Regions from separate parts of the Homo sapiens genome. Here region 2 is linked to region 1. The links are contacts of gene promoters, found by promoter capture Hi-C in human tissues and cell types (Jung and others, 2019). All regions are on one chromosome and are shown on one strand. Each heading gives the region's core, a stretch centred on a gene start or on the middle of the fragment in contact. The rest is flanking DNA. Distances are from core to core; before and after follow the strand shown. Region 1 holds the start of ARL8A (ARF like GTPase 8A). Region 2 overlaps RNPEP (arginyl aminopeptidase).

Region 1 (2,700 bases), core at 156-2,655:
TAATAAACCAGAATATTGGCCAGGCTCATGCCTGTAATCCCAGCACTTTGGGAGGCTGAGGCAGGCAGATGGCTTGAGCTCAGGGCTTCGAGACCAGCCTGGACAACATGGCAAAACCCCGTCTCTACCAAATATACAAAAATTAGGCTGGCATGGTGGCGCATGCCTGTAGTCCCAGCTACTCGGGAGGCTGAGGTAGAAGAATCACCTGAGCCCGAGGAGGTGGAGGCTGCAGTGAGTCGAGATCCCACCGCTGCACTCCAGCCTGGGCCACACAGTGAGACCCCATCAAAAAAAAAAAAAAAAACAATATTATGCTAGCCGAAACCTTGTGATTCTTCTACTTTGGTAACTGTTTGACTATTTGGGGTCATCTAACTCCAGTTGATTGGACAGATATGGTTGATATTGATAGTTTACCCACTTTTGACTAAAACAATAGACTACATATGACTACATTTGAAAACCAAACCCCAACGGGCAGCCAGCATAGGCTGGGGACTGCCCGAAGCCTGAGCCTACCCGGGACTGCCAGCTGAGGTTGTCAGCCTGCCTGAGCAGGTCCTATGGGTGGGTCTTGCAAGGAGAGGGGCAGGAGTAAGGCATCTTTGCAGGCACTCCAGACCCACTTCAAGAGGAGAACTATCACTTCTCCTCCTGAAGAATACTCTGCTTTTCACCAAAACAGGGCAACATTTTCCTTTGTCACAGACGTTCCTCACTGAAAACCCCCTGCCAGGACTGTATCTGTTTGGGTATCTTGGGGATGCTGGTAAAAATCCGGAGCAAGTTCAAGCGTCCGTTTCACTTGGGGCCAGAGGCTTCCTAACAAGTGGTCGGGGTAAATTGTGGTGAACAAAACAAGATGGAGTATTAAAAGACCCGAATACGGTTGTCCCTCTGCACTGGGTGCATTTTGAGAGGATGGGACTGTACCCAGGAATGCTCAGAGGCAAGGGTTCAGGGACAAAAAAGCCTCCATCTGCCTCCCTGTCGTAGAGATCTCATCTCCGTGTCCTGGGAAGTGGGTGACCCACTCTCCTTCAACCTGAAAAGGCTCCTGCTTAACCGGAACCTCACCCACCTCGAGCCCACCACCCTTTAAGAAAGGGGGTGCCAGTCAGGGCGCGGCAGTCGGGGACAGGGTCTAAAATAAATTAGACCCCATTTCCCAAGCGCCTCTCGACGCCAGCTGCCGGTCAACCCCCGCCGCTGAAGCCTGCGGATTCCCTGCTCACCCCACCTGCGGATTCCCTGCTCACCCCACCTGCGGGTGCGGCCCCTGGCCCCCCGGCTCCAGCGAGGGAGGAGCGCGCGCTCGGGTGCGAGCAGGACACGGCCCGGCCGCGAGGGAGGGCGGCGGCGGCGGCGGAGGAGGAGGGCGCGGAAGCCACACCCATCGGCGAGCCGATTCCGGGGCAGCGAGTCGTCGGCAGCCGCGCTCGAGCCTCCGCCCGCACCGAGCCGCGGGACCCGGGCCGTACCGGGGAGGGGCCGCTCCGGGCCGCAGCGCGAGGGCAGCGAGGGGCGGCGGGGACCTGGCACCGGGCGGGGCCGGCGGCAGCGACCATGATCGCTTTGTTCAACAAGCTGCTGGACTGGTTCAAGGCCCTATTCTGGAAGGAGGAGATGGAGCTCACGCTGGTCGGGCTTCAGTACTCGGGCAAGACCACCTTCGTCAACGTGATCGCGGTACGAGGGCGTCGGGCGCGGGGTCCCCGGGCGCGGGCCGCGGGTCGGGCCTGTCCCCGCCCGCGCCGCGCCCTGCTGAGCCGGGGTCGCCGCCTGGCATAGCCGGGCACGGCCGGGCGCCGGGCGGGGGAGGAGCCGGCCCCGAGCGCTTGGGGCCTAGTACGGCCCGTGCCGTGGGGGACCGGGGCGGCGCGCGACCCGCTCTCTCACCCGGGCCGGTACTGCACGGCTGGGGGCAGGGGAAGGGGGACGAACAGACAGGGCCGGTGCCACGGGGCAGGCGGCACCGAGGGGCTCTCGAAGCAGGAGGGACCCGCTGCCGGCTGAGACGGGCCCCCTCTGGCCCCCGCGCAAGGGGGCATGACGGGGCGAAAGTGCACGGGCCTTCCTGTCCCGCGGGTAGAGGGTCACGGGACGGGGCGGCCGAGAGGCTTGAGGAGGGGGTTTGGGCAAGCCCAGCCCCACCCAGAGGGCTTAACCCCTCCTTGCCGGAAGAGGAAGCCCCGGCCCTATTGAGGGGGAGGGGAGGTATCCCCCGGGGTAGAGGAGTCAGCTGAGGCCCTTGGCTCAAGCCCAGACTCCTCCCCAACTTCTCCCCGACCCGCAGTGTCTAGCCGGGGGTCCAGGGAGGATCGCATGGTAACGGGAGTTTGGAGACTCCGTCTGGCTCAGAAGTTTGCAGGAGCAGGTGCTCCCGACAAGAGAGGATGAGGTGTAGGGGCACGGCCCACTGGGGCCTTGGGAGAGTGGCTCTAAGGGCTTTGGGTCGTCAACACTGAAGTGGGTGATTGTAAGTCTTTCAGCGCCAGGGGAGTGGTGGGGAAGGAGTTAAAATCTCTCTCAAAAAAGGGGAAGATGAGCTCCATGGGTGTGAGCTGAGGCTGCCGTAATGGCTGCGGCCTGCCTGTCAGAGCCAGGCTAGACAGGGCTTGTGGGTCGAGGAAGCATGGGACAGGGGCTGGGGTTGTCCAGGGACCTGGCCCCAGTCCCAAAGCTGAGGTTTCCCAC
Region 2 (2,700 bases), core at 156-2,655, 150 kb after region 1:
CCTCAAGAACCTCTTCTCTGCCGGGCCTGGTGGCTCACACCTGTAATCCCAGCACTTTGGGACCAAGGTGGACAGATCACCTGAGGTCAGGAGTTCGAGACCAGCCTGGCCAACATGGTGAAACCCTGTCTCTACTAAAAATACAAAAATTAGCTGAGTGTGGTGGAGGGCGTCTGTAATCCCAGCTACTCTGGAGGCTGAGGCAGGAGAATCGCTTGAACCTGGGAGGTGGAGGTTGCAGTGAGCTGAGATCACGCCACTGCCCTCCAGCCTGGGTGACAGAGCGAGACTCCATCTCAAAACACACACACACACACACACACACACACACACACACACACACAAAGAACCTCATCTCCTAGGCCCTCTCCTCAGCAACAGTGAGAAGCCTGGCTCATACCCTCCTCTCTTCCTCCTCTCCTTCACTTCTGGGATCAGGGAAACTTTGCTCTGGGAGGCAGGAGGTGGAAAAGCCACACGAAGAGGAAGAATGGAAGCCAGTGACTCAGTTTAACAGGAGACACTAGAGTCAATGTGATACCACACCTTCCCCAAACATAAGGTCCAAAAAGCTTCTCTCCTGTTGCCAAAAATTCTTCTATCACCCCGTTGTACTCCTCCTTGGCAGCATCAATCAGGCAGGGCTCAGCCCACACCCGGCTCCTAAAGACAAGAGAGCAGAGAAAGCAGAATGGTGTTTAGAGACCATCGCAGTGACCTGATCCTGAAAGCACCTGTAGGAAATTGGCCTCCGCCAAGTGAATGTGACAATGCAGTCAGCCACAGTGACGGAGTGCAAGATCGGATCACCACACAGATCCAAGAGACCGCTCACCACACCTGAGAAACAAGAACCCAAGACAGCCTCATGGAGGTGGAACCGTGCTACGCAGTTATGGCTTCACTACTGAATGCGATCTTGCAAAAGTGATTTAACCTCTGTGAGCCTCAGTTTCCTCATCTGTAAAATGAGTGAAGATTAAATAAGACAACACACAAAAGCCCTTCAAACATTTATACAGTAAATGTTAGTTTTCTTCTCCCTACTTAGAGGAGAGATAAGAAAGCGTTCTAATAGTAGAATCTGGAATTGAATAAAACCTTAAGAGACAAACCTTTTTTATTTTTTTTTTAAGACAGGTTCTTGCTCTGTTGCCCAGGCTAGAGTACAGTGGTGTGATCCAACCTCCACCTCCTGGGGCTCAAGTGATCCTTCCATCTCAGCTCCCCAACCCCAGTAGCTAGGACTACAGTTGCACATCATCATGCCTGGCTAATTTTTTTATTTTTGTAGAGGTAGGGTTTCGCTATGTTGCCCTGGCTGGTCTTGAACTCCTGGGCTCAAGTGATTCACCTGCCTCAGCCTCTCAAAGTGCTGGGATTATAGGCATGAGCCACTGTGTCCGACCCAAACCTACTAATGTTAATAGAAATTTGTTAACTGCCTTAGGTACAATAATGGGATTGTGGTTATAAGGGAGAATGCCTCTATTCTTCAGAGAGGCACACAGATTTACTTGCTTTTAAATGGTCTAGCAAAAATAAAAACAAATCCACTCATAAAACTAATATGACAAAGTAGATGGTTCTATAGGTGTTCAATGCATCATCCTTTCAATTTTCTAAATATTTGAAATTTTCTTAATAAAAAGATAGGGAAACAAAGGTGGCTTGGAGGAAACAAAAACAAAAACAAAAACAAAACAAGAAGATCCAGTCTAATGGAAAGATGCAATGGACTCAGGGATCCTGCAGCCAAAGGCTCTGCTTGACCAAGAGCCCCTGGCTGCGCTTAGAACTGCTTTTCCACACAGACATATGAATGAGACTGGCTGGGCCTGGTGGCTCATGTCTGTAATCCCAGTACTTCGGTAGGCCGAAGTGGGTGGTTCACCTGAGGTCAAGAGTACCAGACCAGCCTGACCAACATGGTGAAAGGCTGTTTCTACTAAAAAAAAAAAAAAAAAAAAAAAAAATTAGCAGGACATGGTAGTGTATGCCTGTAATCCCAGCTACCTGAGAGGCTGAGGCAGGAGAATCGCTTGAACCTGGGTGGCAGAGGTTGCGGGGAGCCAAGATTGCACCATCGCACTCCAGCCTGGGTGACAGAGTAAGACTCTGTTTCAAAAAAAAAAAAAAAAGAGACTGATGGCAAAGTGGGATGGGTCCAGGCCCGGATGAGGGAAAACTTCCTCTGCGTTTGCTGAAGCATAGGAACTATTCTAACAGGAAGAAAAGATACAGGGAAACCAGTATCAGGTACTTCCCAAATATCAAAAGCAAAGACGTAGCCATGGAACACTGCATATGCATGTGAGGAAGCACCGAGAGTCTGGGATTACTTGAGGACAGGATCAGATTGCAATGAGGGAGGCAGTGGCAGGAGGTGGGACATGAGATGCCCAAGAGGGTCGGGTCATGAAGAGCCTCAGGTGCACTGTTACAGAACCGGACCTTCAGAGCCATGGGAGCATTTTAAGCCAACAAGTGACATTATCAGATTTAGTTTTAAGATATCATCCTGGCTGCAGAACACAGAAAATATGTTAAACTACAAGAATGGGTGAGCTCTCCAAGGAAAGCATGTAGAAGAAAAGAACAGGTCAAAGACAGAGCCTTGGGCAACATCGACACACAAGGAGCTGGGCAGAGGAGTCAGGGAAGGAGATGAGAAAAGGACTAACCAGGAGGCCTGATGAC

The links. Contacts are between HindIII fragments. The study calls those that stand out against the background at their distance.
Region 2: a contact is called between a fragment that was not itself captured here and the fragment with the promoter of ARL8A in region 1, in 2 of the 25 tissues and cell types used here (dorsolateral prefrontal cortex and stomach).

Annotation. Positions count from the first base shown.
Region 1 is chr1:202,143,442-202,146,141 of GRCh38, reverse strand. It overlaps ARL8A (ARF like GTPase 8A), which reads left to right and starts at 1,405. Exons shown (of 7, transcript NM_138795.4): 1 at 1,405-1,692. The coding sequence starts at 1,570. RefSeq lists silencers at 1,205-1,914, 2,415-2,464. The HindIII fragment of the contact is 36,256 bases long and covers 1-2,700 here.
Region 2 is chr1:201,994,110-201,996,809 of GRCh38, reverse strand. It overlaps RNPEP (arginyl aminopeptidase), which reads right to left. Exons shown (of 11, transcript NM_020216.4): 4 at 547-663. Among named protein-coding and RNA genes, the nearest start is that of MIR6740, 7.7 kb to the left of the region's middle. The HindIII fragment of the contact is 5,206 bases long and covers 1-2,700 here.